Linked DNA regions of Homo sapiens: regions 2, 3 and 4 are each linked to region 1. The links are contacts of gene promoters, found by promoter capture Hi-C in blood cells and fetal thymus (Javierre and others, 2016). All regions are on one chromosome and are shown on one strand. Each heading gives the region's core, a stretch centred on a gene start or on the middle of the fragment in contact. The rest is flanking DNA. Distances are from core to core; before and after follow the strand shown.

Region 1 (7,725 bases), core at 2,145-4,644:
TTGACGCACAGTTCTGCAGGCTATACAGGAAGCATGGCTGGGGAAGCCACAGGAAACATACAATCATGGCAGAACGTGAAGGGGAAGCAAGCACATCTTCACATGGCAGAGCAGGAGAGAGAGGGCAAAGGGGGAAGTGCTACACACTTTTGAACAACCAGATCTCTTGAGAACTCACTGTCATGAGAACAGCAAGGGGGAAGTCTGCCCCATGATCCAAACATCATGACCTCCCACCAGGCCCCTCCTCCAACATTGAGGATTACAATTCAACATGAGATTTGGGTGGGGACACAGAGCCAAACCATATCAGGTACCATGAATGTCAACATGAGAAAATACAAGTATATTGTGGAAAATGAGAATCAAGTTTCCTACTATTGCAGAAGGGAGGTAAAATTATAGAGAAGAGGAAGACTAGAGGAAAATATGTGGTATTGGATTGGAATTTGAGGTATTGGTGTGAACTCATATTTTATATATACATATATATTTTGATATATGTGCACATATATATGCTCACATATACATAGATCTATATATACATATACACATCTATATGCACACATATTTAAATATATTTCATAGAAATATAGATGAATGGGTGTGTATATCAATATTCATTTATTTGCTAGGTCTAGTCACTGAAATAGACTGGAAATAATGACATCTCAGTAGCAATAAACACACCTAGCATCCAAACTTGGCTTCTAAATACCATTCCTTACTAAAAGGAACTAAGGCTCTTTGGAGAAATGAATGATGTGACAGATGTGAAAATCTATGACATAACTTATGAAAATGGCAGAGAGATGATCAGCCTCCACCCAACTGGAATGGTTGATGAAAGCTGAATGAGATTGTAAGTTACATGGTATTATTGTATTTATTAATTTCTTGATTTTGCTGGGTTGTACTGTGGCTGTGACATAGAATATATCCTTGTTTTCAGGAAATACAGAAATACTTTGGGTAATGTCTGTAATTGGCTCTTAAACGGATCGGGTGGAAAAACAAAAGAACAATATGCATAGTGAGAGAGTGAGAGAGAAAGAATGATGAGGTAAATGTAAACTATTAACAACTGGGGACTTTGGGTTAAGGGTATGAGGGCATTATTTTGTAATATTTTTGCAACTGTACTGTAAACTTGAAATTATTTCAAAGTAAAAAGTCTCAAGAATATTTGAGCACAGGGGAAATATTCAAGCTAGGTAAAATATGTAGATTACTAAACAAATGTACAGTGTAATCTAAATTTTGTTGAATATACATATTTAAGATTCAGTAAAATTATACTTTTAGAAGCATAAAACAAAGTTAACAATTGTCATCTATTGGTGATAGAATAGCCATGCCCCTCTTAAAGCCAAAAGGCTAGCAGATATCAAGACCTACTCTAAAGTTAGAGAAATCAAGACGTGTGACATTGGCACAATGACAGAAAAATACACCCATGGCACAGAATAAGAGTCAAAAATTGACCCAGACATACATAGTCACCGGATTTATGACAAAGCTGCCACTGAAATTCAGTGGGAACAAAATTTTTAAATAGTGCTGGATCAATTGTACACCCATATGGAAGAGATGAATCTTGATGTCTAACTCCTATCATATACAAAGATTAATGTGAAATTAATCATAGACCTAAATGTGAAAGATAAAATAACACAGAAGAAAACCTAGGATAGTATCTTCATAACGAGGGCAGGCAAAGATTTCTTACATAGGACACAAAAGGCACTAACCATCACAACAAAATTTCAGGCCGGGCGTGGTGGCTACCGCTTGTAATCCCAGCACTTTGGGATCACCTGAGGTCAGGAGTTCGAGCAGCCTGGCCAACGTGGTGAAACCCCGTCTCTACTAAAAATACAAAAATTAGCCGGGCGTGGTGGCAGGTACCTGTAGCCCCAGCTCCTCAAGAGGCTGAGGCATGAGAATCTCTTGAACCCGGGAGGCGGAGGGTGCAGTGAGCCGAGATCGGCCACTACTGCACTCCAATCTGGGCGACAGAGCAAGACTCCGTCTCAAAAAAAAAAAAAAGTTTTAAAATGAAATTAAATTATCTAATACCATTAAGAGTAAAAAAAAAATCATGAACTGGGAAAGTATTCACAATATATAATTTTGATAAATTATGGAGCTCAGGTGCAAGTAACTTAGTAGGCAGGAGAGGAAGGAGTCTAAAGAAGTCTAGTTAGGAAGGATTACTGAAAGAGGGGGTATATCTAAAAATGGGTAGGATGGGAAAGGGAGACTTTGGGAACAGCCATGGGTTCCTAATGCGCCCACAACATACATGGGAGTTATCCTGAAGATAAACTCCCTGAAGACAGTGAAAGCCATTTCAAAACTCCCCATATAACTTATGAGAACAGAGGGGTGATCTGCCTTTAATGTTAGGCCTTCTGAGATCCTGCGATCTGTTCGCTCTCCTCAGTAACATTACCCTGCTCAATTGCTGCCTTAATCCCAGGTCGCACATTGGAATGTGGGAATTCAGCGTTTACATTTACCCACACAGGATCAGCCTTCAGCTGCTACGATCAACTTCAGTATTTTCATATAATCACTTTTTTCTTTCCTTAGTTCTTGAATTATTAATTCCTTGAGAAGAGTCCAATCAGAGGTAGTCTTTCTTCAGTATTTTCGGTAATCCTAATTTCTGTGCAAAAAAATTTCTGTTCCATTTTAACCGTGCAGAACTTTCTGTTATCTAAAACACAGTTTCTCTATGAGAGTTCAGTGAAAATTCCCCTTCCCAAACTGATTCTATGAATGACTGTTAGATAAGCTTCACCACTGCATGTAGAGGGTGTACCAGGAACCCAAGTTAGTAGCTCTCCTCAAAGACCCAACTTTTGGAGGGGGTCATCGTCTGGTTCCTGGTATGCCTCCACAGGTAGGTCCGCCTCAGGAAGTCAGCGGCGAGGAGCACAGAAGAGGCTGCCTTCACCAACGGACAGCAGTTTTCATCGTGAGGGCCGTCGGCAACCGCTTGGATGTGTCTAAAGGGGCCGTTTGGGAACCGGCCCTTCTGGAGGGAAGGGTCGGAGTGGGAGGGGATCCGGGATCCGCCTTACGGCCGAGTGTCCAGCAGCGCGTTCCAACCTGGCAGAACCGACGTACTTCATATGCTCCTCAGGGGAGCGCGGGAATCACCAGGCTGAAGAATGACTGGAAATGGGACCCTCTCCAACCAAAGCACCCAGACATTCCGGCGCCGGACATTTCAAAGAGCGCGGAAGCCACGCCTTCCCCCAGAACCGGAAGCTTTGCAACTAGCGCCTCTTGTAGACTGGCTGTTTATAAGGGGGCGGGGGGCCACAGCGGGAACTGCAACTCCCAGAATGCAGCGCGGAATTTCCGGTTTCCGGCGAGAGGGCCAGAGTGAGTGTTTACACCGGCGGCAGTGCGGCCGGGTTCCTTCCGCGGGACGGGTGAGGGCGCTGGGGCCCTGGGCAGCGCGGGCTCGATGTGTGTCAGCCAAGTAGCTGGTCCCACTGGAGCGGTGAGGTCGCCACCGGATAGTGTTCCTGCCCCATTACTAGCGATCTGTGACCTTGGGCCAGTGATTTTACTGAGTCTTGCTTCCCTCATCTTTAAAATGTGGCTAATGCCTGCCTTAGGGAACCGTTGTGAGGATTAAGTGAGACATGGTATATAAAACGACCTCCTTCTGGCATAAACTTGAGGTGGAAGATACCTTGAGGATGCTTGAAGGTCTGCTAGGCAGCTTCACAGCCTTTTCTTTCCTCTTCTCTATCAGAGGTCTCTTTGGAAGCAATAATGATGACTATAACAAGAACTTATCTTGCTTTGCAAGATTCTTCCGCCGTCAGAGTTTCTGATTTATTTTCTGGGGTTCCATGTATGCCAGGTATGGGGACAAGGATGAAGAAAACTTTAGTCTTTTGTTTTCAAGGGCATTCAAGAATTGGGGTGGAGGAGGGGGCAAGCAGATATTTGTAGCCCTTTTGTTCTGAGGGGATGTGGGAACAACAGAGGAAAGAGAGGGGACTGAGGTTATTGAATCTGTGTTGGTTTCGGTAGGAGTTTGCTAAAAGGCCAAAAAGGGAAGAGAAATTACATGCAGAGTTAGATGAGCAGAGGTGTAAAATAGGGGAGAGCTTTGTTATGAGTGTGTACTTACATGTTGTGGAGGTCCTTTGCAGGGGTAGGGCTCTGTTGGGGAATGAGGCTGGCAGGGAGTTTTGTAAGCCAGGCGATGAAGTTTAGACTTAATTTATATAGATGGTTTAGAGGTATTGGAAGAGGTCTTTTTCTGGGGGGCCGGGGTGGGGCAGGGAGGGACGGAGTCTCTGTCGCCCAAGCTGGAGTGCAGTGGCGCTATCTCGGCTCACTGCAACCTCCACCTCCCGGGTTCAAGCAATTCTCCTGCCTCAGCCTCTCAAGTAGCTGGGATTACAAGCGCCTGCCACCACGCCCTGCAAATTTTTTCTATTATAGTAGAGATGTAGTTTCACCATGTTGGCCAGGCTGGTTTCAAACACCTGATCTTAAGTGATCCGTCCTCCGCGGCCTCCCAAAGTGACAGGATTACAGGTGTGAGCCACCGCGTCTGGCTTTTTTTTTTTTTTTTTTTTTTTTTTTTGCGACAGAGTCTCTCTCTGTCACCCAGGCTGGAGTGCAGTGACGTGATCTTGGCTCACTGCAACCTCAGCCTTCCGAGTAGGTGGCACTACAGGTGCGCACTACCACGCCCAGCTAATTTTTGTATTTTTAGTAGTGACGGGTTTCACCATGTTGGCCAGGCTGGTCTTGAACTCTTGAGCTTAGGCAATCCGCCCGCCTAGGCCTCTCAAAGTGCTAGGGTTACAGGCATGAGCCACCGCGCCCAGCCCGACATTGGAAGAGTTCTAAGCAGAGAAGTGACTTGGTCAGATCTGTGTTTTAGAATGATGGGTTGTGGCCAGGCGCAGTCGCTCATGCCTGTAATCCCAGCACTTTGGGAGGCCGAGGCAGGTGGATCACGAGGTCAGGAGATCGAGACCATCCTGGCTAACACAGTGAAACCCCGTCTCTACTAAAAGTACAAAAAAAAAAAAAAATTAGCCTGGCGTCGTGGCGGGTGCCTGTAGTCCCTGCTACCTGGGAGGCTGAGGCAGGAAGGCAGGAGAATGGCGTGAACCTGGGAGGTGGAGCTTGCAGTGAGCCGAGATCGCGCCGCTGCACTCCAGCCTGGGCAACAGAGCGAGACTCCGTCTCAAAAAAAAAAAAAAAAATGATGGGTGTTGTTAGGTGGCAGCATAGATATTTGATAGGGAGAGGCAAGAGGCAGGGAACTTGTTATAAAGCTGTTCTACTGGTTCAAGCAACAGTTGAAGAAAATTGGAAAAAGGGGCATACAGAAGGGAGAGGGTTAGATGATCTCTCTCACAACATTCCTATTAGATTGGATGGCGTTTTTATGTCCACGTTAGGGATGAAGAAACTGAGGCCTAGAGAGCTGTCCATCACAGTATGAGTAGAGAGAGAACCCCAGATTCTAGTTCTGGCCTCCTGATGGTACGCCCTATGCCTCTTCAACAGTGTCACATTGAATTGTCTTTCATTCAACCCTTTGGTGGGTGGGGGTGGAGTAGAGTGGTGGTCTGTCTTTTAACCACTGAGGTTTTGTTCTTTTACAGGGAGAAAGAGAGAGCGCGAAAGAGAGAGGATGTCTCTCTCAGACTGGCACCTGGCGGTGAAGCTGGCTGACCAGCCACTTACTCCAAAGTCTATTCTTCGGTTGCCAGAGACAGAACTGGGAGAATACTCGCTAGGGGGCTATAGTATTTCATTTCTGAAGCAGCTTATTGCTGGCAAACTCCAGGAGTCTGTTCCAGACCCTGAGCTGATTGGTGAGTCTCTCTGGACTGGGGTTGGGCTGCTGCTCTGATCTCTTTTGGGGGAGGATACTTCTGGAATTACAAGAGTAAAGTAAGGGCTTGGGATTTGTTGCCTCATAATGTTAACACTCCAGGGAAGTGAATGTTGGGTAAATAGAAACACAAATCATATAATGAAACTATTGGTTGCCATTTCAGCCATGTATTATACTGAACTACCTTATCACCAGGTTCTTTATGACATTGTCTTGTTTTTTGTTTTTGTTTTTGTTTTGCTGTGTAGCCCAGGCTGGAGTGCAGTGGTGCGATCTCGGCTCACTGCAACCTCTGTCTCCTGGGTCCCAGTTCAAGCAATTCTGCCTCAGCCTCCCGAGTAGCTGGGATTACAGGCACACACCACCATGCCCAGCTAATTTTTGTATTTTTAGTAGAGACATGGGATTTCACCATGTTGGCCAGGCTGGTCTTGAACTCCTAACCTTGTGATTCTGCCCGCCTCAGCCTCCCAAAATGCTGGGATTACAGGCATGAGCCACCGCTCCTGGCCAACATTGTGAATTCTTTTTCTGAAAGAACAGAAGTTTGGGATGAGTTAGGAAAGGAGAAGTTGGTCAGGGGAGGCTCCTCAGTATATTTGAGGTAGGTCTTCAGGGATGATTAGAAGGATTTTTGCTTGGTTGACTGAGTAAAGGAAAGGCAGTAAAAAAGAAAAAGTGGCGTGGGCAGTCCAGGTGGAGGAGGGAGGAATTTAAATATAATTAAATTACACTGAAAAGGTAATTTTTAATAGCTAAAGGATCCAACTGGCAAGAAAGATGTTTTCAGTCATACCTGGATTGGGTTCATCCTATTTTGTTGTTTTTCCATTGATTTAAATTGGGCAGCCTCCACAATGTTAAACTCCAGAGTTTTTCTGTGGATAGATTCTGTGTGAATCCTTTTTTTTTTTTTTTTTTTTTGAGACGGAGTCTTGCTCTGTTGCCCAGGCTGGAGTGCAGTGGCGAGATCTCAGCTCATTGTAACCTCTGTCTCCCAGGTTCAGGCAATTTTCCTGCCTCAGCCTCCTGAATAACTGGGATTACAGGCCCGCACAACCACAACTGGCTAATTTTTGTGTGTATGTGTGTATATATATATATATTTCTTTTTTTTTGAGACAGAGTCTTGCTCTGTTGCCCAGGCTGGAGTGCAGTGGTGTGATCTTGGCTCACTGCAACCTCCGCCTCCTGGGTTCAAGCAATTCTCCTGCTTCAGCCTCCTGAGTAGCAGGGATTACAGGCGTCTGCCACCATGCCTGGCTAATTTTTGTATTTTTGGTAGAGACGAGGTTTACCATCTTGGCCAGGCTGGCCTTGAACTCCTGACCTCAGGTGATCCACCCACCTCGGCCTCCCAAAGTGTTGGGATTACAGGTGTGAGCCACCGTGCCCGGCCCTAATTTTCGCCATGGCCCAGGTTTCGCCATGTCGGCCAGGCTCCAAAAGTGCTGGGTTTATAGGTGTGAGCCACCACATCTGGCCAGATTCGATGTAAGTCCATTTTATGAGTTTATATTTGCAAATAGTTGTTGAAATGTATTTAATTGGCTAGGCATGGTGGTTCACGCCTGTCATCCCAGCACTTTGTGAGGCTAAGGCAGGAGGATCCCTTGAGCCCAGGAGTTAAGAGACTAGTCTAGGCAACATGGCAAAACCCCGTCTCTACAAAAAACTACAAAAATTAGCTGGGTGTGGTGGCATGTGCCTGTAGTCCCAGCTACTCAGGAGGCTAAGGTGGGAGAATTGCTTGACCCCAGGAGGTTGAGGCTGCAGTGAACCGTGATGGTGCCATTGCACTCAAGCCTGGGCAACAGAGTAAGACCCTGTTT
Region 2 (7,725 bases), core at 3,171-5,670, 490 kb before region 1:
GTTCCTGATCCCACCAGGAGACGGGGAGGGGGTCAGCCATTCACACATTGCGGTGCCAAGGTCCAGTCGCCGCAGCCACTCCCAGGAAGTGGTAAGAGGGTAAATCCCGGTTCTGAACAGCAGGGACCGAGGGCCGCTCCCAAGAAGTGACAAGGAAGTAAACCCTGGTTTTGAACAGCAGGGACTGAGAGCTGCTGCAGATGCCCAGAGGGCGAGAACAGCGGGAGGAGGGAGAACAGCATCTGGCAGCCCCATCTCCAACTGAGGCCCAGCAATCCAAGGCACTGTCATGCCCCCAGCACTTTCCCGGTGGCCCGCCCGCCCCAGCTCTCTGTGTCCCTCCCCGCCACGCCCCGTCACAGTCCCCTGGCTAGGACCAGATCTGCCGCCCTCTCTCAGTCCTGACTGCGTAGGGCGGGTGGAAGGAGGACGGGGGAATCCCGAGAGCAGTTTTAGGGAGGGTCGGGCCCCTTCTCAGACCCCCTCCCTTCCATCAGTAGTCCTGACAGCCCCCAATCTCATCTTTCTCTAATGCTTCTCTCACCCGGCAGGAGACCCCGGGCCTCTCTTTCGGTCCCGTGGAGTTTCCGCCGGAGAGGCATCCAGTAGTTCCATAATGCCCCCAGGGCTTCAACTCCCCATCTTCCTCCCTTCTTTCTCTCTTTTATTTTTTTTTAAGTCTTTTTAATTTTTGTGGGTATACAATAGGTGTCTATATTTAGAGGGTACATGAGACGTTTTGATACAGGCATGCAATGCATAATAATCACATCCTGGAGAATGGGGTATCCCTCCCTTCTCTTTTGTATTTTATTTAATTAATTAATTTATTCATTTTTCGAGACAGAGCTTTGCTCTGTCGCCCCGGCTGGAGTGCAGTGGCATGATCTCGGCTCACTGCAGCCTTCAGCTCCCGGGTTCAAGCGCTTGTCCTGCCTCAGCCTCCCGAGCAGCTAGGATTACAGGAGCGTGCCACAACGCCGAGCTGATTTTTGTACGTTTAATGGAGACGGGGTTTCACCATGTTGACCAGGCTGGTCTCGAACTCCTGACGTCAAGTAATCCGCCCACCTCTGCCTCCCAAAGTGCTGGGATTAAAAGCGTGAGACACCGCGCCCGGCCCCTCCCTTCTCTTTTTTAAAACCTGCGTTCACCTAGCCTCCTTTCGAAAAGGACCCCACTGGATCTCAAGGGGCCAATGTTGCCTGAGCGAATTCCGCCTGGGAGGAAGGGGGCGGCCACGTTGGCAAGGCATCGTGCCTGGCTCACCCTAAAGCGCGCAGCTCTAAGGGTGGGCTCTAGGGCCTGGGTGGAGCGAGCCTACCGCCTTTTCAGAAGAGGTCACGCCCGCTTCCCCACGCGCCTCGGGGAACAGCCTGGCCCAAAGCCTCACTCCTCACGTCCCAGGGGTGGACGGGGGTCCGGGAGCCTCGAGCTCCGGGCAGGCGTGGCGAGGCTGAAGTCTGGGTCTTCCGCGCCCCGCGAGGACCACGCCGCGACGTAATCGCCCGCGGGGAGGCGCGGAGTGGAGCCGCAGCCAGCTCCTCCCGCACTCTGCTGACCGCGCACTAGCTGTCCTTGAGGCAAGAATACTTGGGAGCGGAAAAAAGGTGGGGGTGTTCCCCGGGGCGGGGGAGGAGGGGCAAGGCCCCAGCAAGCCTCTTGGAAATCTCTCCCTGGGAGGGGACGAGGGGCGGCCTTCAGTTGCAAATGGGAAGGGCTCGGATACCGGATTTGAAGCAGTGTTTGCACGGCAAGCGCAGCTTTTATTTAGACTGCCGGTTTGTGAGGGTTGGCTCTCAGAGCGCTGATGGCGATTATAGTGGAACTTCACCTTCACCTGCTCATGCGCCCCGCAGCGCGCCCGCTCCCACGCCCGCGTAGCTGAGGACCCAGACTCGCCAGGAAAGGCTAGTGAGGCTGGGGCCCGGGCGGGCCCGGCCGGGCCGGGTCAGGGGAGGGGCCTGGCGGCAGGGGCGGGGCCTCAGCTAAAGGCGCGGAGCACCCGGCGCCGAGAGCGCTGAGTAGAGCGGCGCCCGCTCGAGAGAAGTGGGGCCGAGATCGCGCCGTCCCAGCCCGCCCGCCGGCGTCTGCGCTGCTCCGGCGCCCTTACCCCTGCTGGCCCTTGCAAGGCGCGACCGGCGGCCATGCAGCCCCGGGGCTGAGGCCGCCCCATGGCAAAGCCGGCGGTCCCGGCGACGACGGCGCATGGAGAACTTCCGTAAGGTGCGCTCCGAAGAGGCGCCAGCGGGGTGCGGGGCCGAGGGAGGCGGCCCGGGCTCCGGCCCCTTCGCAGACCTGGCGCCGGGCGCGGTGCACATGCGGGTCAAGGAAGGCAGCAAGATCCGGAACCTGATGGCCTTCGCCACCGCCAGCATGGCGCAGCCAGCCACGCGCGCCATCGTCTTCAGCGGCTGCGGCCGGGCCACCACCAAAACCGTCACGTGCGCCGAGATCCTCAAGCGCCGCCTGGCGGGCCTGCACCAGGTCACGCGGCTGCGCTACCGGAGCGTACGCGAGGTGTGGCAGAGCCTCCCGCCTGGGCCCACGCAGGGTCAGACGCCTGGCGAGCCGGCCGCTAGTCTCAGCGTACTTAAGAACGTGCCCGGCCTCGCCATCCTACTTTCCAAGGACGCGCTGGATCCGCGACAGCCCGGCTACCAGCCCCCGAATCCCCATCCTGGTCCCTCGTCCCCGCCAGCCGCGCCAGCGTCCAAGAGGAGCCTAGGGGAACCCGCAGCTGGAGAAGGCTCCGCGAAGCGATCGCAACCCGAGCCAGGGGTTGCGGACGAGGATCAGACGGCCTGAAACTCCGGACTGTGGGCCACCTAGTCCGGCAGGATCTTCCGCCAGCGCCTCCACCTTCAGATGTACCTCCAGCCTTTCACTCCTCGGTCCTCCGGAGCCCACAACCTGGACACAGCTCCTCAAGACAGGTAGCATGGACCTTAAGGCGACAAGAGAGGGGCCCCAGGAGTGGCAGGAGAGGATCCCCGACCACCCTAGGGAAACTTCGTGCGATAATTGCTGCTTATGCCCGTGTTGCGTGAAGACACGGAACTTCACCTTTTCTGGGACCTTCTTTGGGGGAGAATGGTGGACAGTGGGATTCTGGAAACTTGTTTGGGACCCCCAAGGGTTAAAGCCACCCAGCATTCACGAAGAGCACCTGAAGTATGGAAGCTGAGAAGAGTTATTGGAATCACCCCCACCGTTGACAGAGGAAGGCAGGGGGTGAGAATTAACTGCTTGAGGGTAGGAGAGTCTGAGATGTGGGGGCCCTATTCCGCTCCCCGCCCTGGGACAGTTTTCCTTTCTAGTTTTCTTTCCCCTGCTTCAGAGGAGCATCTCTGAGGGTTCTAGCTCTTTTAACACCCCTTTTCCCCCTGCTGGCCCAGAGGGAGACCCAGGACTGAACTCTCCAGGCCTCCTCCCCTGAGCCCTGCAGCTGGCTGGAGTCTTGCTTCCAATAAAACAAGCACAAAAATGGCTGTGTCCCCCATTTTTTTTCTAACCACCCGCCTGTGCAGAGACAGCTCTCGCCTGGCCCCTTGTGTCTCCCCTCCCCTCCAGCCTTGCGTCCTGAGTCTTTGGAGTCTTCAGGGTCAGGCACAGAGACTGAACAGCTTCAAAATGGTGCAAGGCACTGCCCAGTCCCTGGCTTCTTCCTCTCTCCTCCCCCACTCCGCCCTCCCGGGCTGGCCCTGGCCTCAGAGGCTGTTGCAAATGGGGGCCCGTGTACCCCTGTACATCGCCACTAAGGGAAAGGGAGCGGCACATTGTTTTTCTGGGAGGGGAAGGAAGGAGTGGAAGGACAGCATCGATGAACTCTCCTGGAGGTCACTGCAAAGGGTGGCAGACCCTGCTGAGGTCCCTGAATCTGCAGCCTCCAGACAATAAACTGAACCTTACCCAGAAGGCTGGCACAAAGCCCCCAGCTCTGTGGGTAGGATCTCCCCTTCACTGCCCTCTCTCTGAGAAAGGACAGCACACCCTTGGGAAAGGGGGAGGAGAGAGACTGAGCACAAATCCACTGCTGGAAATTACTATTCAGCAGAGAAGCTGGGTCTTGGGCTGTGAATCACTGCAGGCCTCCTGATAAGCTGCTGCCTCCAGCCCTGCACAGCTGTCTGTTGAGAGATAACAGCCTCATAAGCTTCTCTGCCCAACTCCAAGCCAGCTGGGGGGTGGGGGTGCTGCTGTGTGCTGGAAGAGCTCTGGTGAGTTGGGGGTGGCATACAGCCCCAGGATCTCAGAAGCAGATCTCATCCCATGCAACTCAGCAGCACCCCTGGAAAGGGGGAGATGCGGAAGAATGTATTTATAAGTCATTTTGCTGGCAGAACCCTGAAATAAATCCTGCTGGTGACAAGAGATACGTTCTGTGGCTGACTGGAGGGGCTCTTAGGGAGGTTTCCCTCCCCTGCAGTATCTCTGCTTGAGCTTTGGAGTGAGCTTTGTCATCCAGACTTTGTCCCTCGTTGCTCTCCCCAAATTCCTGCTCTTGATGAGTCCCTGGAGAGGGCCAAGGGGTTTGGGTTTGCTTGTCTGACCCTCTCAGGGGTGGCCCAAGAAGCATGGAAAGAATGTAAACTGTCCTGACAAGATGGCCTAGCTTCTCCTGGACTTCAGCATCTAAAGGCAGTGATAAAACTTGGACAAGGTCCTGCATGGTAGAAGCTTAAGGGAGACTGGTCTTGGTTCTGAAAAGGGTCCAACTTTCCAAGACAACAAGTGACTGATAGCCGGGTTACCAGGACTATGAAAGCAGGGCCTGAGGCCGGGCATGGTGGTTCATGCCTGTAATCCTGTAATCCCAGCACTTTGGGGGGCCAAGGCGGGCAAATCACGAGGTCAGGAGCTTGAGACCAGCCTGGCCAACATGGTGAAACCCCGTCTCCACTAAAAATACAAAAATTAGTCAGGCATGGTGGCGGGCGCCTGTAATCCCAGCTACTCAGGAGGCTGAGGCAGGAGAATCGCTTGAACCTGGGAGGCGGAGGTTGCAGTGAGCCGAGATTGCATCACTGCACTCCAGCCTGGGCGACAGTGTGAGACTCCGTCTCGAAAAAAAAAAAAAGAAAGCAGGGTCTGCTAGTCTTGTCACGGAGATAAGGCTGCAATGGATTTTTTTTTATTATTTTTTTTGAAACGGAGTATCTCTCTGTCGCCCGGGCTGGAGTGCTGTGGTGCGATCTCGGCTCACTGCAACCTCTGCCTCCTGGGTTCAAGCGATTCTCCTGCCTCAGCCTCCTGAGTAGCTGGGATTACAGGCGTGTATCCCCACACTCGGCTAGTTTTTGTATTTTTAGTAGAGAAGGGGTCTCACCATGTTGGCCAGGCTGGTCTCAAACACCTGATCTCAGGTGATCCACCCGCCTCGGCCTCCCACAGTGCTGGGATTACAGGCATGAGCCACCACACCCGGCCTCTCTTTTTTATTTTTTTTATTTTAATTATTATTATTATTATTTTGAGAAGGAGTCTTGCTCTGTCACTAGGCTGGAGTGCAGTGGTGCAATCTCAGCTCACTGCAACCTCCACCTCCTGGGTTTAAGCGATTCTTCTGCCTCAGCCTCCCAAGTAGCTGGGATTACAGGCATGTGCCACCACGCCCAGCTAATTTTTGTATTTTTAGTAGAGACGGCATTTCACCATGTTGGCCAGGATGGTCTCAATCTCTTGACCTTGTGATCCACCTGCCTTGGCTTCCCAAAGTGCTGGGATTAGAGGTGTGAGCCACCACGATTTTATATATATATATATTTTTTCGCCCGGCTGTAGTGCAATGGCACAATCTCAGCTCACCGCAACCTCTGCCTCCCAGGTTCAAGTGATTCTCCTGCCTCAGCCTCCGGAGTAGCTGGGATTATAGGTGTGCACTACCACGCCCGGCTAATTTTTTTATTATTAGTAGAGATGGGGTTTCACCATGTTGGCCAGGCTGGTCTCAAACTCCTGACCTCAGGTGATCCACCCGCCTCAGCCTCCTGGAGTGCTGGGATTACAGGCATGAGTCACTGCTCCCGGACTCTTTTTATTTTTTTATTTTATTTTTTATTTTGAGACGGAGTCTCACTCTGTTGCCCAGGCTGGAGTGCAGTGGCACAGTCTTGGCTCACTGCCGCCTCCGCCTCCCAGGTTCAAGCAATCCTCCAGCCTTAGCCTCCTGAGTAGCTGGGATTACAGTCGTGGGCAACCATGAGCAGCTAATTTTTGTATTTTTATTAGAAACGGGGTTTCACCGTGTTAGCCAGGCTGGTCTTGAACTCCTGACCTCAACTGATCCACCCGCCTCGGCCTCCCAAAGTGCTGGGATTATAGGGGTGAGCCACTGCCCCCGGCCTGCAGTGGATTTCTCTTGATGGGTCAGAAAAGTTCCCTTCCAGCCCAGAAACCTATCCTGGGGGGTAGAGAAGAGAGGAACATGTTTATCCAGCATCAGAGCATTAACCTTCCCCCAAGCAGGTCATGAAACACTTTCTTTTCTGCACTCCCGCCCCACCCCGGCAAGTTTGGTTCCCAGGCTTTCAGTAGGTGTGCTGACTCACCAATGGAACCCAGCACGCATGAGCACTCCATCTCTGCCCTACTGATTTCTGGCCCCACTGACCTAGGAGCAGGCTCCAAAAGAAGGTGACAGATGTTCCTCTACCCGCTCCCCACCACCAAGGCTGAAGTGGGAACCTCAGAAGTCCTGGGATAAAGGGAGGGGTGGCTAGGGGAGCACCTCAGAGACAAGGCCCATTTCAGGAGCCGACTAGTGGCAGAGTGGGAGAGTCCCTCTTGTGAAACCCCATTTTTCCAATAGTGGTCTCTACCCAGGAGCTTCCTGGACCCAGCCTGGTGCTTGCCTTGGCCCCGCCTTGGGATACTTCCAGACTAGGAGCGGCAGTGAAGTCTCACACCTAGAAAACTTAGGTCACAAAAACAAAATCCATTTGGAAACATAAAAGTATATAATGCAAGGCCCAGAGCTCATGGTCGAATGAGTGATGGACTTCCACCTGAGCCTTCATTCATTCAACAAGTGTTCACTGTTGTACCGGGACCCAGTCTAGAAATGGGCTGGGGCTGGGTATAGAATCACAGCATAATCAGACACTGTACCTCAAAGAGGGCCGAGTCTTGGCCAGGTGTGGTGACTCACGCCTGTAATCCCAGCACTTTGGGAGGCAGAGACGGGGGGGGGGGGGTCACCTGAGGTCAGGAGCTTGAGACCAGCCTGACCAATATGATGAATACAAAATTAGCCGGGCATGGTGGCGGGCGCCTGTGATCCCACCTACTTGGGAGGCTGAGGCAGGAGAATCGCTTGAACCCAGGAGGTGGAGGTTGCAGTGAGCTGAGATGTGCCATCGCACTCCAGCCTGGGCCCATCTAGCACAGTGTGATGATAGAAGATGGGAGCTCTGAGAAGGGGAACTTACCTTGCCCAGAGGTGCTGATGGAGCTGGTTCTCCAAGGATCAGGAGTTAGCCAGCTGACCAAGACTGGACAGGGAGCTCCAGGCAGAGCATAGAGAGCGGGTGTGTATGATGCTGAGGCTGCCACAGGTGTCTGATGGATAGAGGAGATGGCAGAGGGTAACGTGTAGAGATGCAGGTGAACTAGAGTGCTAGGTGGGAGCCAGGTCACAGGGAAGTGAGGGAGCCGGTGGGAGCCAGGTCACAGGGAAGTGAGGGAGCCACTGGGAGCCAGGGAGTGCTCTGAGCCCAGATCTGA
Region 3 (7,725 bases), core at 4,031-6,530, 460 kb after region 1:
ATGCCACTGCACTCCAACCTGGATGACAGAGCAAGACTCCATCAAAAAAAAAAAAAAAAAAAGAAAAGAAAGAAAGGTAGAAAGTTTCAATAGCGTGGAGATACACACACACACACAAGCACTAGAACTTACATATATATGGATATATACATATAGATATATGCATATATACACATATATATTATATACATATATTTGTGTATGTATATATATGTGTGTACAACAAATACAACTTTTCAACTCTAAGGATTATTGCTAGGAATATGTGAGTCCAAGGAATATCCTAGGCCGCTAAGAAAATCTCAATATAGTCTTAGATGTAGAACTCATACAAACTGTATAAACTGGCCATAGTGCAGAAATTAACAAGTATGAAATCGCACCATCACATTCCAGCCTGGGTGACAGAACAAGAAACCAAACATCAAAACCACTTGAAAATTTTAGAAAACACTATTCTCTAAAACTTTTCAAGAGAAAAAAATTTCTTTTTTTTTTTTTTCGAGTCAGGGTCCGGTTCTGATGCTCTGGTTGGAGTGAAGTGGCACCATCACAGCTCACTGCAGGCTCAAATTCTTAGGTTCAAGCAACCCTCCTGCCTCAACCTCCCAAATAACTGGGACTACAAGCATGTACCACCGACCATGCCTGGCTAATTTTTTTTATTTTTTGTAAAGATGAGGTCTTGCTATGTTGCCCAGGCTGATCTCGAACTCTTGACCTTAAGCAAGAGAACCTTTTTAAGAAAAGACTGAAATGAAATTTGAGAAATGATTGACTATGAGAACACTAATGAAGTTATCAAAGTTATGGCATACAGCCAAAACCATATACAGAGAACTTATGCCTTAAAAGAGTTATTATTAGGCAGGGCATTGTAGCTCACGCCTGTAATCCCAGAACTTTGGGAGACTGAGGCGGGTGGATCACTTGAGGCCAGGAGTTCGAGACCAGCCTGGTCAACATGGGGAAACCCCGTCTCTACTAAAAATAAAAAAAATTAGCCAGGCATGGTGGTGGGCACCTGTAGTCTCAGCTACTGGGGAGGCTGAGGCAGGAGAATCACTTGAACCCAGGAGGCACAGGTTGCAGTGAGCCAAGATCTACCACTGCACTCCAGCCTGGGTGACAGAGGGAGATTCTCAAAAAAAAAAAAGTTATTATTATTAAACAATAAAGATTGCAAATAAATGAATTATAAGTTCAAGAAGCTAGAAAATGAATAATGACAAAAGTTAGAAGGAAGAAAATGACAAAAATAAAATGATCAAACAGAAAGAAGGAAAACATTAAAATCAGTAAGCAATCTAAGGAAAGACTAAAAGTACAGTACTTTGAAAAGACTGCTAAACCACAAATATACAACATCAGAAATAAAAAAAGGGGGTATAGTTACAGGCATATAGGAGATTTTTAAATAATGAAAGATAACTCAGGATGAACTGGAAAATCTTCCAAAAATCTGACACAAGAGCCAAAACAGATTAATGCCATGGCAAAAATGGGAAAAGTTCCCAAAAATCTACTATAAAAAAGGCACCAGTTCCAAGATGGTTTTTCAAAAAACTTTTATAAGCCTAAATTTCTTATATTCTTCAAATTGTTCTAGAGCAGAGAAATTATAATAGAATTTTAACATTCACTGAGTATTTAATATGTGCCAGGCACTACGCTAAACAATTTATATGTACAGTTGGCCCTCAGTATCTGCAGGTTACGCACCCGTGGATTCAACAAATCTTGGATCAAAAATATTCAGGCGAAAAAAAATCAATTAAAAAAGTACCACAATAAAAAAATATACAAATTCAAAAATATAGTAAAACAACTCTTTACATAGCATTTACATTGTATTAGGCATTATAAGTAATCTAGAGATGACTTAAAGTATACAGGAGGGGATGGGTACAGTGGCTCACACCTGTAATCCCAGCACTTTGAGAGGCCTAGGGAGGGTTGCTGCCTGAGCCCAAGAGTTCTCAAGACCAGTCTGGGCAATGTCGTGAAACCCTGTCTCTACAAAAAATTTAAAAATTAGCTGAGTGTGGTGGTGCACACCTGCAGTCCTGTATAATCTGGTGGCTGAGGTGGGAGGATTGTTTGAACCCAAGAGATTGAGGCTGCAGTGAGCCACGAGTGCAGCACTGCACTCCAGCCTGGGCGACAGAGCAAGACCCCGTCTCAAAAAATAAAAATAAAATAAAAAATAAAGTATACAGGAGGATGTGTAGAGGTTATATACAAATACTATGCCATTTTATATCAGAGACTTGAGCATCTATGAATTTGAAACAGACTCCCATGGATCCCGTGGGATGGCTGCATTATCACGTTCAAAACATGAAAGCTTACAAATTCATTAAGAAATTAGTATAAGGCTGGGCATGGTGGCTCATGCCTGTAATCCCAGAACTTTGGGAGGCCGAGGCAGGTGGATCACCTGAGGTCAGGAGACCAGCCTGACCATTATAGTGAAACCCTGTCTCTACTAAAAATGCCAAAAAATTAGCCAGGCATGATGATGTGCACCTGTAATCGCAGCTACTTGGGAGGCTGAGGCAGGAAAATGGCGTGAACCCGGGAGGTGGAGGTTGCAGTGAGCCGAGATCGCGCCACTGCACTCCAGCCTGGGTGACACAGCGAGACTCCATCTCAAAAAAAAAAAAAAAAAATTAAAAAAAATTTTTTAAATCCAAAAGATAGAACCAGAGATAAAGCCAATTTCTCCTAATTTATTGCAATTTCAATCAAAATCCAATAAATATGTAAGTTTTAAAACTGCATAAATTGTAAGAGCAAAAGAAATGCATACATTTTTTTCTTTCGAGGAATTTGTTCCTGAATTCTTTAATTAGTCCCTTAATTCCTCAACGGAAACAACAACAACAACAGGCAAAGGACCTAAACAGGCCACTCGCAAATGCAGAAACACAATGGCCAATAAACAAGTGGAAAGCCACTCAACCTTTACAATAAGCTAAGAAACGTGGTGATACCAGCTGTTGAGGAGTCGGAGGGGAAAGCTTATTCTGATAGTGTGGGAAGTTTATCCTAAAGCAGGAAACAAATCACAGTCAGTTTAGCAGATATGTAGTTCAGCAAATATGTGGTTTAGCCATATATAGTTCTGAGTTGTCAAAAACCAGCGAAAAATGCTTTCATTTTGCAAGTGGATCTCTAAGAACCAAGAAGCGCCTTCTATGAACAATCTATTGCTAATGGTGAAAAGTTCACATAGTTATGCTACCTTTTTGGCTAAAAGAGGGAAAATAGGACCTGATAAGATTGCTCCTACCTGCATATATATTCGTAAAGAAACTCTCAGAAGAAACATTCAAAACTAGTAACAATGGCTACCTGTGGATGGGAAGAGGGAGAAGTGGTGGGAATTAGGCAGTTGGGCATGGACAGAAGATTGCACTCTCTCTCTCCTCTTTACAAATTTTGTTCGTGAACTGTACGAATGTATTACCTATTAAAAAACTGAGTTAAAATCTGTTTAATAAAAATAATTACAACTGGATGTGATTTTTTTTCCCCATACAGACATTCTCAGATAGCGCTGCCTGGTGTTAATGGTTTCAACTTTTCAGACAGAAACTAACTACTTGTCTCTGATCCTAGAATCCAGCCTTACTGAGATTCCGTGTCAGTGCTCTCGGAAAATTCCACTAAATTCTAAAGGGCAGTTTGGTAACATGTATCAAATGTAGAATTCCCGTCCCCCTACACCCAGCAGTGGCACTTCTAAAAATTTATCCTAAAGAAGTTACTGGATAAAGATGCAAAGATGATTCTGCAGCATTATTTATTACAGGAGGAAACTGGAAACTTACTATCCACCTGCGTGGGGACTGGCAGCATAAATTGTGGTCATCAACACGGACACTGCATATCTGCAGACCACATTTAGAGTTGCAAGGCCCCAGAAGCTCCTTGTCCTCAGCTGTGTGACTCTTTGGATCTTTGCTCCTCTCGCCCTCTACCTGGTACTTGGATGCACCACCCCACCCTGTGCCGGCCTACTCACCTGGTCAGCGTAGGGGTGCGGTGGTTGGGGTTGGAGCAGAAGATGTTGTTGGTCTTGCGGGTGCCGTCCAGGAACTCACGCACCGACTGGTTGCGCAGCTCTGCTAGGGGCCGGGCCTCGTGCTTGAGGAACCACTGGTGTGCCTCGAAGCACTTGGCGCAGAGGAGCTGCTCGCACTCAAAGCACCAGAAGTCGGCCGACTCTTTGCAGCGGGTGCACACAGCCTGCGCATCCACAATCTGCCGGTACACCGACAGGCGCCGCTGCAGACTCTCGAAAAAGACGTTATCCAGGGCGGGTGTGTCTGCACCTAGGGGCCAGGGCGCCTGGCAGATGGGGCACTGCATGCCCGACGCCTCCAGGCATCCTGAGCACAGCGTGTGCAGACAAGGCAGCAGCTTCGGGCACTTGGCTTCCGCCTGGCATTGCTGGCAGCGCAGAAACTGGAACTCCTCCTCCGAAGCGGGGGCTCGCTGGGGGACCAGAGAGGCAGGTGAGGCCTGGAGAAGTCCCAAAAGCCCCCACCTACCGGCCAACCACCCTTACAGCTGGACCCTGGAGTAGGACCTCATATTCCATTCCAGCCAGTCATTGGATGATGCAAAACCCTGGCTTATCAGCACCCCAATACCCCCATTTATTCAGGCCCTCCAGCTCTCACTGCACCATTTATTGAGCATCTACTTCTCATCACCCACAGTAATAGGCTCTGAGATATAAGAGGTGTAGGATACATTCTGCCTTCAAGGAACTCAGTTTGGAAGGTAGATACACTAAGTACCAACCTCATATAAAGTGCTTAATGCACAGTTTGGGGGTTCATTAAAGAGGTAAGCATGGAACAACAATATGACCCAGAAATTCCACTCTTAGATATATAACCAAAAGATGTAAAAACAAGGCCCAAACAGATACTTGTACAACAATGTCCACAGCAACACTATTCACAATAGACAAAATGTAGAAACAATCCAAGTATCCATCAACAGATGAATAGATAAACAAAATGTGGTCTACACATATAATGGAATATTACTCAGCGTTAGAAAGAAATGAAATTCTGATACATGCTACAACATAGATAGACCTCAATGACATTATGCTAAGTGAAATAAGCCAGTCACAAAAGGTCAAACACTGTATGATTCTGAGGCAGGAGAATAGGGTCTGGAGGCAGGGAACCTAAGGCCGATTCCCTCTGACTTCCTAGAACTAAATCGAAAGGAAAACCGCAACTCTCCATGCCTCAGTAACAAAAGGAAGAGAGGCTACTCTCTTTGCAAATCACCCCATTTCCTGCAGGGCAGATGGAAAATTGAAAGTACGTCTGGTTGGTTGCTTTCTGCAACCAATGGGGTGAACACCAAGTGGCCAATGGGAAACCTCTAGGGGGTATTTGGAACCCAGAAGATTCTGTAACTGGGGTCCTTGAGCCCTGCTCTAGCCGCTCCCACCCTGTGGGGTGTACTTTCATTTTCAATAAATCTCTGCTTTCATTGCTTCACTCTTTCCTTGCTTTGCTGTACATTTTGTCCAATTCTTTGTTCAAAATGCCAAGAACCTGAACAATTTGCAGTCAAGATCCTCTACTGGTAACAATTCCACTTACATGAAATATCTAGAATAAGTAAGTTCATAGGGACAGAAGGTAGATTAGAAGTTACCAAGGGCTAGGGGAAGGAGAAAATGAGGAGCTATTGCATTACTGGGGCTCAGGACACACCACTTCAAAGTATGACTGCAGGAGGCTCTTGAAATATACTTCTTTGGCATATTTTAAGCTGGTTATTCTGAGAAACTGCTGATACAGGAATAGCTCTGAAAAGCTCTCCTTTTGTAAAAAAGAAAGGCATTTATATCTTAAAAGAAAATCTACATTAGTAAAATGATCTATATTAAAAGAGGGCTGCTCCAGACAACTTTTATTATCTAAGAACTTTTAATCTACATAGCAAGACAACCTCTATTCACCAAACAGCTCCTCTCCTCACCCTCCCATAACTTGTGTTATCACCATCACCCAGAAGCTCCAAGCTCTTTTCCGTAGCTCAGGATGTTATACAGGCTTCAATCATCTGACCTTTCTTTGAGTCTCATATATTGTGGGACTCCTGAGTATACATATGTAATTAAATATGGGTTTTCCGCTGGTAATCTATTTTATGACTATTTAATTCATAGGCTATTTAATTCATAGCCCAGCCAAGGAAACTAGAAGGGTGGAGGCAAGCCATCTTTCCCTCCCCTATGGTTTAAAGAGTACAGAGTTTCTGGAGTAATGAAAAAGTTCTGGAAATAGATGGTGGTGATGGTTACACAATATTGTGAATCTACTTAATGCCACTGAATGGTACACTTATAAATGGTTAACATAGGAACTTATCCATTAGGTATATTTTACCACATTTTGTAAAATACAAAAACAGGCCGGGCATGGTGGCTCATGCCTGTAATCCCAGCACTTTGGGAGGCCGAGGTGGGTGGATCACGAGGTCAGGAGTTAGAGACCAATCTGGCCAACATAGTGAAACCCCATCTCTACTAAAAATATAAAAAATAGCCAGGTATGGTGGCGTGGCCTGTAATCCCAGCTACTCGGGAGGCTGAGGCAGGAGAATGGCGTGAACCCGGAAGGAGGAGGTTGCAGTGAGCCGAGATCGCACCATTGCACTCCAGCCTGGGCGACAGTGTGAGACTCCGTCTCAAAAACAAACAGATAAACAAACAAACAAAAAACAAAGCAAAACAAACAAACAACAACAAAAAAAAACCAAAGTGCTTAATACAGTACCTGGCACATTTGAAGTGCTCATAAATGTTACCTAGTATTGTTAAGTAATGTTATTCTTAGTTGTAATAATGTTTATAAAAGTTACTGTAATACGGTGTCCTCTGTACTTTCATGAAGGGGAGTAAAAGGGCCTGAAAGGCAGCAGAGCAAGAAACCCAAGTAGTTCCTTTGTCGGGGGAGGTGGGAGGTGGGCAGGAAAGGTGTGGCAAGAGAAGGGTTCGTTGGGGAGGCTTCCTTAAGCAGAAACCACATGAGCTGGGAGGCCTTGGCAAAGATACCTCTTCAGTCTGAGCCAGTTTCTCACCTCGGATCTGGGAAGTTGGTTTTAGTTTTGCCGTGCCTGGGACATGCCCCTGGCTCCAGGCCAGCGCAACAGGGGTACTACCTCCATCCTCCCTAATCTGAAGTCCTGCATCTGAGGCAAAGTTGAGGCAGGGCTCGAGGGTGGGCGGAAGGGCCCAGGCCCGGAGGCCACTGACCCTTCTCACCTTGCCCAACTGCTCAGTGGAGAAACCGCAGCCCAGCGAGGCCGCCCCAACTCCTCCGTGTCCTCTTTTCTACTCTATCCTACCCTCCCTTCCCTGCCCCACCCGAGACGGTCAGGACCCTGGTGTCTGGACTTCCCGCTTTGTGTCACTCTCTAGGGTACTTGACCAAATCCTCCGTTAGACCCTCTCTTCCCGCCTCTCCCCACCACAGCAAACCAACAAAGCTTAACCCCATCATCCCCTAACCCAATAGTACCTCTGTAGGGCTGGGGCTGGGGCTGGGCTGGCGGCCTTCAGAGGGGGTCTCGGGGGGAGGCATGGTGGGCTCCTGGGGCCGGGCGGGGTCCTGCTGGGGCCTCGGAGATCGGGCGGGTGCAGGCTCCATGGACCCCAGCTTAGTTTCGATTCTCGGTTTA
Region 4 (7,725 bases), core at 3,125-5,624, 300 kb before region 1:
GTCTCGCTCCTTCGCCTGGGCTGGAGTGCAATGGCACAATCTTGGCTCACTGCAGCCTCCGCCTCCTGGGTTCAAACAATTCTCCTGCCTCAGCCTCCCGAGTAGCTGAGATTACAGGCATTCACCACTATGTCTGGCTAATTTTGTGCTTTTAGTAGAGACGGGGTTTCTCCATGTTGAGGCTGGTCTCGAACTCCTGACCTCAGGTGATCCACCCGCCTCAGCCTCCCAAAGTGCTGGGATTACAGGCGTGAGCCACCGCGCCCGGCATACCTGGCTATTTTTTTTTTTTTTGAGATGGAGTCTCGCTCTGTTGCCCAGGCTGGAGCGCAGTGGCATGATCTGGGCTTACTGCAACCTCTGCCTCCCAATGCCCAGCTAATTTTTGTAGTTTTAATAGAGACAGAGTTTCACCATGTTGGCCAGGCTGGTCTTGAACTCTTGACCTCAGATGATCCTCCTGCCTCAGCCCCCCAAAGTGCTGAGATTACAGGTGTGAGCCACTGTGCCCAGCCAACCTTTTTTTTTTTTTTTTAATGGGCTCTCGTTCTGTTGCCCAGGCTGGAGTGCAGTGGAGCCATCTCAACTCACTGCAACCTCTACCTCCCAGGCTCAAGCAATCCTCCCACCTCAGCCTCCCGAGTAGCTGGGGTTACAGGCACCCGCCACCATGCCCGGCTAATTTTTATATTTTTAGTAGAGATGGGGTTTTCACCATGTTGGCCAGGCTGGTCCTGAACTCCTGACCTGAAGTGATCCACCCACCTCAGACTCCCAAAGTGCTGGAATTACAGAAGTGAGCCAACGTGCCCAGCCTCCATCTTAACCATTTTTAAGTACACAGTTTAGTGGTATTAAATGCACTCATAATGTTGTGCAGCCATCACCACTGTCCATCTCCAGAGCCCTTTCCATCTTGTAAACCTGAAACCCTACCCATTAAACACTAACTCCCCATTCCCCCTTCTCCCCAGCCCCAGGCAACCACTGTTCTGTCTATCTGTAGGGTTTTGACTATTCTAGGTATTTCACAAAAGTGGAACCATACGGTATTTGTGTTTTTGTAACTGGCTTATTTCACTTAGCATAATGTTTAAAGCTTTACTTTTCAACTAAAATTCACTTCCACCAATGATAAATATGAATGCCAACTTTTCAGCACCCTTGCTAACACCATACATCTTTCCCAATGTAATTGGTAAAAAATTATATTTGTAGTTTTAAGTTATAGTTCACTGATGCCAGGCATGGTGGCTCACACCTGTAATCCCAGCACTTTGGGAGGCCAAGATGGGTGGATCACTTGAGGTCAGGAGTTGGAGACCAGCCTGGCCAACATGATGAAACCCTGTCTCTACTAAAAATACAAATATTAGCCAGGCATGGTGATGCATACTTGTAATCCCAGCTACTTGGGAGGCTGAGGTGGGAGGATCGCTTGAACCTGGCAGGTGGAGGCTACAGTGGGCCGAGATTGTGCCACTGCTCTCCAGCCTGGGCGACAGAATGAGACTTCGTCTCAAAAAAAATTGTAGTTTGCCGATTGTAGGTGCAGCCAAGCATCTCTTTATATTTTAAAATATATTTGTGTCTGTTAACAGTTCATGTTTTTCATCTATTTTTTACTGGATTGTTGTTTTTTTTTTTTTTTTTGCTTTTTGTTTTTTGACATGGAGTCTTGCTCTGTCACCCAGCCTGGAGTGCAGTGGCGCGATCTCAGCTCACTGCAACCTCCGCCTCCCTGGTTCAAGCAATTCTCCTGCCTCAACCCCCTGAGTAGTTGGGATTACAGGCACGTGCCACCACGCCCGGCTAACTTTTGTATGTTTAGTAGAGACGGGGGTTTCACCATATTGGCCAGGCTGGTCTCGAACTCCTGACCTCGTGATCCGCCCGCCTTGGCCTCCCAAAGTGCTGGGATTACAGGCATGAGCCACTGCGCCCGGCCTGGATTTTTTTTTTTTAATAGGAACTCTATATATTAAAGAAATTAACCTTTAATCTGTGCATCATTCAGGGTCCCCAGCAGGAAACAGTTTAATTCGAGGAAGGATTAATACAGAGATTATTACACGGGGTTAGGCAGGGAACGGTGGGGGCCCTGAGAGGGTAGTGCCTGAAGAATGCTACTGGGGGAAAGAGCTGCATGGAGAGGATTGCCTCAGAGGACACATCCCCATCTCCTGTGAGAGCCTCCATTCTATGAACCCGTCTAGGAGCCAGAGGGCCAGGGAGTCTGTGGATAGAAGCCCCACAGGTCAGCTTCCCCTCACAGAGCACGGGATGGAGGGGGACTGAAGGGGAGAACTGGAAGCCAACCGGCTTATGTTCCTTGTGTGTCTTCCAACTTGGTTATGATTCTTTGGAATGCAGAAATGATTGATTTTTATGCAGTGGAATCAGTCTTTTCTTTTGCCGCTTCTGGACCTGTGTCAAACTTAGAAAGGCTTTCTCCACTCTCATACTACTTTAAAAAAATCAATTCCTTGCCAGGTGTGGTGGCTCACACCTGTAATCCCAGCACTTTGGGAGGCCAAGGCGGGCGGATCACCAGGTCAGGAGATCAAGACCATCCTGGCAAACACGGTGAAACCCCGTCTCTACTAAAAAATACAAAAAATTGCCAGGTGCGGTGGCTCACGCCTGTAATCCCAGCACTTTGGGAGGCCAAGGCGGGCAGAACACGAGGTCAGGAGATCGAGACCATCCTGGCTAACGCGGTGAAACCCCATCTCTACTAAAAATACAAAAATATTAGCCGGGCGTGGTGGCGGGCGCCTGTAGTCCCAGCTACTCGGGAGGCTGAGGCAGGAGAATGGCGTGAACCTGGGAGGCAGAGCTTGCAGTGAGCCGAGTTTGTGGTGGAGGCACTGACCCAGAGCGCAGCCTGTCTGGTGTGCGATGGTTGCTGAAATTTGCCCAACTGTGCTCAGCTACTTGTTTTATCACTGTGGACCCCCAAAACTCTGGGCAGGGCCTCAGCTTCCCGCCCCCCACTACTGCTGTCCAAGGAGGTAGAGTTACCAGTCCAGGTCTCCCAGCCCTCAGATGTAACCATGGCCCGCCAGCAGGAGCAGAAGCATGCTTCCCAAACCTGCCTGATTACCCAGCCAGCCACCCCACTCCAGCCCCCACCTTGGAGGAAGCACTAATCTGGGGACTTTGAGATTCCATGATTCTCACGGCAAGAAGGACTCTCAGACACGCGAGCCAGCGGCTCCCTTGGCCCTGAGGGCACAGGAGATAGAGGCACACCTGTAAACACATGCCTGGCTACAAACACGCACATACCTGGCTGGCGTGCTGAGCCACCTGAACTGACACCTGGAGAACTCACGCACAGGCATCCACCTGACCACTCCAGGCCACATCTGCCCATGCGCATGCACCCGCTGAGAGCTGGCACTCACGTCTGTTGTTGCCTTATCGACACACCCGAGACTAGGGTTCAAAATGCGTGCCCACGCCTGCTCCCAGCCCCTGCCGGCCCACTGGCACTTTCAGCTGGGCCACCCCAGGTCAGCAAGGCCCAGGGCAGGGTCAGTTTCAGCCAGGCCCCCCAACTCTTCATATTTTCTAGCTGGGGAAATTGATGTCCAGAGTTTCTGGTCAGCAGCCAGCCTGGTGGGGACCCTCTGAGCTATCCTGCTAAGTGTGGATAGGCACGGTGCAAGAACAGCTCCTCATCTGCTCCTGGCCTCCTCCCTGACCCCTGCCTTTAAGAGCCCCCATCTGATGGTGGAGCTGCTGAGACCCCTGGAATGAGTGTGATTGTGTATGAGAGAGAGAGAGGAATGCGGGCCTGTAAGGGAAGTGTCACTACACAAATGAAACTGAGCTGAGTGTTCCAAAAATTTGGGGGGAGAGCATCCCCCAGCCCTCAACAGCATGCCCTGTGCTCTCCAGAGGCATTTCTGGGACCACACCCCTATCTGCAGCACAGGCGTTTTGGCCACTCTGAGCTGGGCCCTTCTCTCTCTCATGTTTTCTGGCTCAGCTGCTGGGTCCCTGATCACCCCTAGTCTGGCTCCTTTCCCTCAGCCTCTCATGCAGTTGGCCAGCATTCCTCGAGACGACTCCGGAACAGGCTACACACGGGGGACACAGAGATGAATGAGAACAGGGCCCTAGACTCTTGTGGGGAACCCAGCCCAGCCCCAGAGAGAGGGTCTGGGACCATCTTCTCTGAAAGAGGGGGCGGGGGAAGCCAGTCCAGGTGGTGAAAACAGGATGTCCCAAGGGTGGCAGGCCTGGAGTGCACAGAGGCCCGCCCCTTGAGCAGCATGGGGGTCTCCAGACTTCCCTGGGGCAGACGTCAGGGGGGCGGCGGCCTGTCCCACTGGGAGGTGAGTTTCCTTCCGGCAGCTCCTTCTCACGCAATGGGCGGGAAGGGGTTGGGGGCCCATTGTTCCCTGGCACGCTACCACCCCCAGCCCTCCCCAGCTTCTGGGTGGGGGGAGCAGTGGAAGGAAGTGGGCTGAGCCCAGGCCCTGGCAAGACCCCAGTGAGAGAGCGCAGGGTTTGGGGAAATGCTGGCTCACGTGTGGGCCTGGTGTGTGCACAGCTGCACATGCCACACGTGTGTCGGGGGTCCATCTTGCCCTGAGTCCACCTTTCTCAGGATTTCTGGTGTGTGTGTGTGTGTGTGTGTGTGTGTGTGTGTGTGTGTGTGTGTTGTACCCTGACCTGTAATTTGGCACTTTACACACATTATCTCATTAAACCTCCCACCCAACCTGTAAGATAAGATTATCATCCCCAGTTGCGAGATGAGAAAGTCTAGACTCAGAAAGTTTATGTCACAGGCCCAAGGTTAGTGGGTGAGCTGGGATTTTCTTCTGGATCTGTGAGCCAGCCTCTGGTCTCATCTCTTTTCCCTTTCCCAAGCCCTGTAATTATCTTAATACTGGCCTGGGGTGGAGGGGTAAATACAGAGGTGAAGGCCTGGGGGAACCTATTGAGTATCACCTATGCCACTATGTTATCTTAAACCCAGAAAAACCCGCTGGGCTGCAGGGCCCACAGGGAGAGTGCAGGTCCCTCAATGCAGAGCAGAGTCTGCTTCCCTTATTAGTGCAGGGTGATGGGCATCGGGCAGGCTCCTTGCCCAAAAGTGCCCCCCTCCGCCCCATTGCACTGCCTGAGAGGCTCCATCGCAGCTGTACTCCAGAGGACTCTAGTGAACCTGGTGTTATGTCATGGCAGAGGGGTGGACAGAATGCAGGGTCTCAGAACTAATTTTGAGGGGGATCACTAAAGAATGGGGAGCTTGGCTCAGGGTATGGCTACCTCTGGTGGCAGTCCCCTCTCAGGGACAGGAGCCAGTGATAGGGATAAGATATAGGGCAAGCTCATGGACTGACGCTGAACTGCATAAACCCTGGTCTAGTCAGCCTCTGCTTGGTTCCCCCACCCAGATGGTATACTCACTACCATTCTTTCAGAGAGTCTGCACCCTCCTCAGATTCCTTTGTCAACTGGAAAATCCTTCCTTGGGGGGCAAGTTACTTTAAGACTGAGATTTGGCTGGGCATGGTGGCTCATGCCTATAATTGCAGCACTTGGGGAGACCGAGGTGGGTGGATCACCTGAGATCAGGAGTTCGAGACCAGCCTGGACAACATGGTAAAATCCCATACTCTAATAAAAATACAAAAATTGGCCGGGCACGGTGGCTCACGCCTGTAATCCCAGCACTTTGGGAGGCCGAGGCAGGCGGATCACGAGGTCAGGAGATCGAGACCATCCTGGCTAACACGGTGAAATCCCGTCTCTACTAAAAATACAAAAAATTAGCCAGGTGTGGTGGCGGGCGCCTGTAGTCCCAGCTACTCAGGAGGCTGACGCAGGAGAATGGTGTGAACCCAGGAGGCAGAGCTTGCAGTGAGCTGAGATCGCACCACTGCACTCCAGCCTGGGCGACAGAGCGCGACTCCATCTCAAAAAAAAAAAAATTGGCTGGGCATGGTGGCACATGCCTGTCGTCCCAGCTACTTGGGAGGCTGAGGCAGGAGAATTTCTTGAATCCAGGAGGCGGAGGTTTCAGTGAGCCGAGATCGCACCACTGCACTCCAGCCTGGGCGACAGAGCAAGACTCCACCTAAAAAAAAAAAAGAGAGAGAGAGGCTGAGATTTATCTGGGCAGATCTGGGTGAGGGAGACCCCAGTGACTGAGTTCATTTGCATAGGGACTGAGTGGAATCCTGGGAGGGAGGTCACCCTTAGGGAAAAAAGAGCCAGGCAAGACCACCTGACCCAGTGTTCCAACCTTAGTTAGAGCAGTGTAAGCTGGTTTGCAATGGGGTGTGTGTTAAAGCTATTTCTAATTTGTTGTTAGGAGGTCTCAACCTGGGAGTCACGGGAAAAGATGAGAGCAAAGATAATTTTCTTTGTAGTGTGGGTGTGAGGAGAGGTGGGCAGAGCAGAAAAGTGACAAATGGAGGCTTTTGTGTGTTCCGCTAGCTTTCCGCTGTGCCATTGTTTCTTCCAGGACTTGTGTGCAGGGATCCCTTGCTGAGGTAGCTTAGACCCTGTGACCCTCACTCTGTTGCCTGTGGCTATTTACCAGGGTAAACATTGCTCCAAGGGGACCCAACCACTGACTGACTGTGGTCTCTGACCTGTGTAGCCTGGCTGAAAAAGATGAGCTGAGCCAATCAAACCCCTCTCTCAAGAAGCTGAAACTAGGCTGGGCGCGGTGGCTCACGCCTGTAATCCCAGCACTTTGGGAGGCGGGCGGATCACGAGGTCAGGAGATCGAGACCGTCCCCGGTGAAACCCCGTCTCTACTAAAAAATACAAAAAAATTAGGCGGGCATGGTGGTGGGCGCCTGTAATCCCAGCTACTGAGGAGGCTGAGGCAGGAGAATGGCATGAACCCAGGAGGTGGAGCTTGCAGTGAGCCAAGATTGCGCCACTGCACTCCAGCCTGGGCCACAGAGCAAGACTCCATCTCAAAAAAAAAAAAAAGAAGCTGAACTAGCTCGGCACGGTGGCAGGAGACTGAGAGACTGAGGCAGGAGGATATTGCTTGAACCCCAGGAGTTTGAGGCCGCAGTGAGCTATGATTCGCCAGTGTACTCCAGCCTGAGGGACAGAGGGAGACCCTCATCTCTTTAAAACAACAAAAAACAAACAAACAAGAAAGACCTGTACTAAGATATAAACGAAAGATCTGGTATCTGGTTGGTGGTAGATGCTTGACATAAAGGGAGTTGGGGATCTGAACTGAACAGGTGGGGAGGTCTAGAGAAGTCTCTTAATTTTCCCTACCAGGCAGAGGTGGGATTCCCAGCTCAAGGTTTTTCCCACCATTCTACCATCTTTCATTCCACCATCTTTGCCAAAAATCACCCCTCACCGGGTACACTGCACTTCGAAATTTGCCAGGCACTCACTGGATTTGCCCACAGCCTTATTAAGCAAGAGGCTGGCAGAGCAGGGGTCATTGCTAGTGGCCTGAACTTCAGGCTAATGGTGCTGGAGAAGACCTCACAGAAGGCTGAAGATGGGGTCGAGGCCTGTGAGGGGTGGGACTGGCCCAAGGTCACCCACACTTGGAACCTGAGTGCAGGACTCCTAGCCCTCTGGCCAAGAGCTCTTTCTAACTCTCCATGCCGTTCCTTGATCATGTAGTGTTTCCAAGCTTCCTGTTCCAGTCCCACAATCCTGACTCAGGGAGAGACACAGGTAGGGAAGAGACCCTGGAGGTGGTATAGGGCAAAT

The links. Contacts are between HindIII fragments. The CHiCAGO score rates a contact against its expected background, and 5 or more counts as called.
Region 2: a fragment that was not itself captured here is called in contact with the fragment with the promoter of UBL7 in region 1 in 1 of 17 cell types (naive B cells); the score reaches 5.7 in naive B cells.
Region 3: a contact is called between a fragment that was not itself captured here and the fragment with the promoter of UBL7 in region 1, in 5 of 17 cell types (fetal thymus, erythroblasts, total CD8 T cells and 2 more). The highest score is 8.3, in fetal thymus.
Region 4: a contact is called between a fragment that was not itself captured here and the fragment with the promoter of UBL7 in region 1, in 1 of 17 cell types (M0 macrophages). The highest score is 5.4, in M0 macrophages.

Annotation. Positions count from the first base shown.
Region 1 is chr15:74,456,829-74,464,553 of GRCh38, reverse strand. UBL7 (ubiquitin like 7) reads left to right here and starts at 3,394. Exons shown (of 11, transcript NM_032907.5): 1 at 3,394-3,517; 2 at 5,658-5,870. The coding sequence starts at 5,687. UBL7-DT (UBL7 divergent transcript) reads right to left here and starts at 3,289. Exons shown (of 4, transcript NR_120377.1): 1 at 2,527-3,289. RefSeq lists enhancers at 1,875-2,375, 3,323-3,472, 3,763-3,852, 3,307-4,153, 4,309-4,828 and 1 more. The HindIII fragment of the contact is 11,059 bases long and covers 3,282-7,725 here.
Region 2 is chr15:74,951,067-74,958,791 of GRCh38, reverse strand. It overlaps RPP25 (ribonuclease P/MRP subunit p25), which reads left to right and starts at 2,020. Exons shown (of 1, transcript NM_017793.3): 1 at 2,020-4,374. The coding sequence starts at 2,209. The coding sequence ends at 2,808. RefSeq lists enhancers at 1-408, 1,403-2,336, 2,337-3,270, 3,271-4,204 and a silencer at 1,728-2,377. The HindIII fragment of the contact is 524 bases long and covers 4,159-4,682 here.
Region 3 is chr15:73,994,782-74,002,506 of GRCh38, reverse strand. PML (PML nuclear body scaffold) reads right to left here. Exons shown (of 9, transcript NM_033238.3): 1 at 7,566-7,725; 2 at 4,031-4,503. The coding sequence starts at 7,694. Among named protein-coding and RNA genes, the nearest start is that of PML, 3.9 kb to the right of the region's middle. RefSeq lists enhancers at 4,417-4,919, 7,209-7,378. The HindIII fragment of the contact is 4,510 bases long and covers 3,026-7,535 here.
Region 4 is chr15:74,759,211-74,766,935 of GRCh38, reverse strand. No RefSeq gene overlaps it. Among named protein-coding and RNA genes, the nearest start is that of CYP1A2, 14 kb to the right of the region's middle. RefSeq lists a cis regulatory region at 3,204-3,302 and an enhancer at 3,195-3,309. The HindIII fragment of the contact is 6,546 bases long and covers 1,102-7,647 here.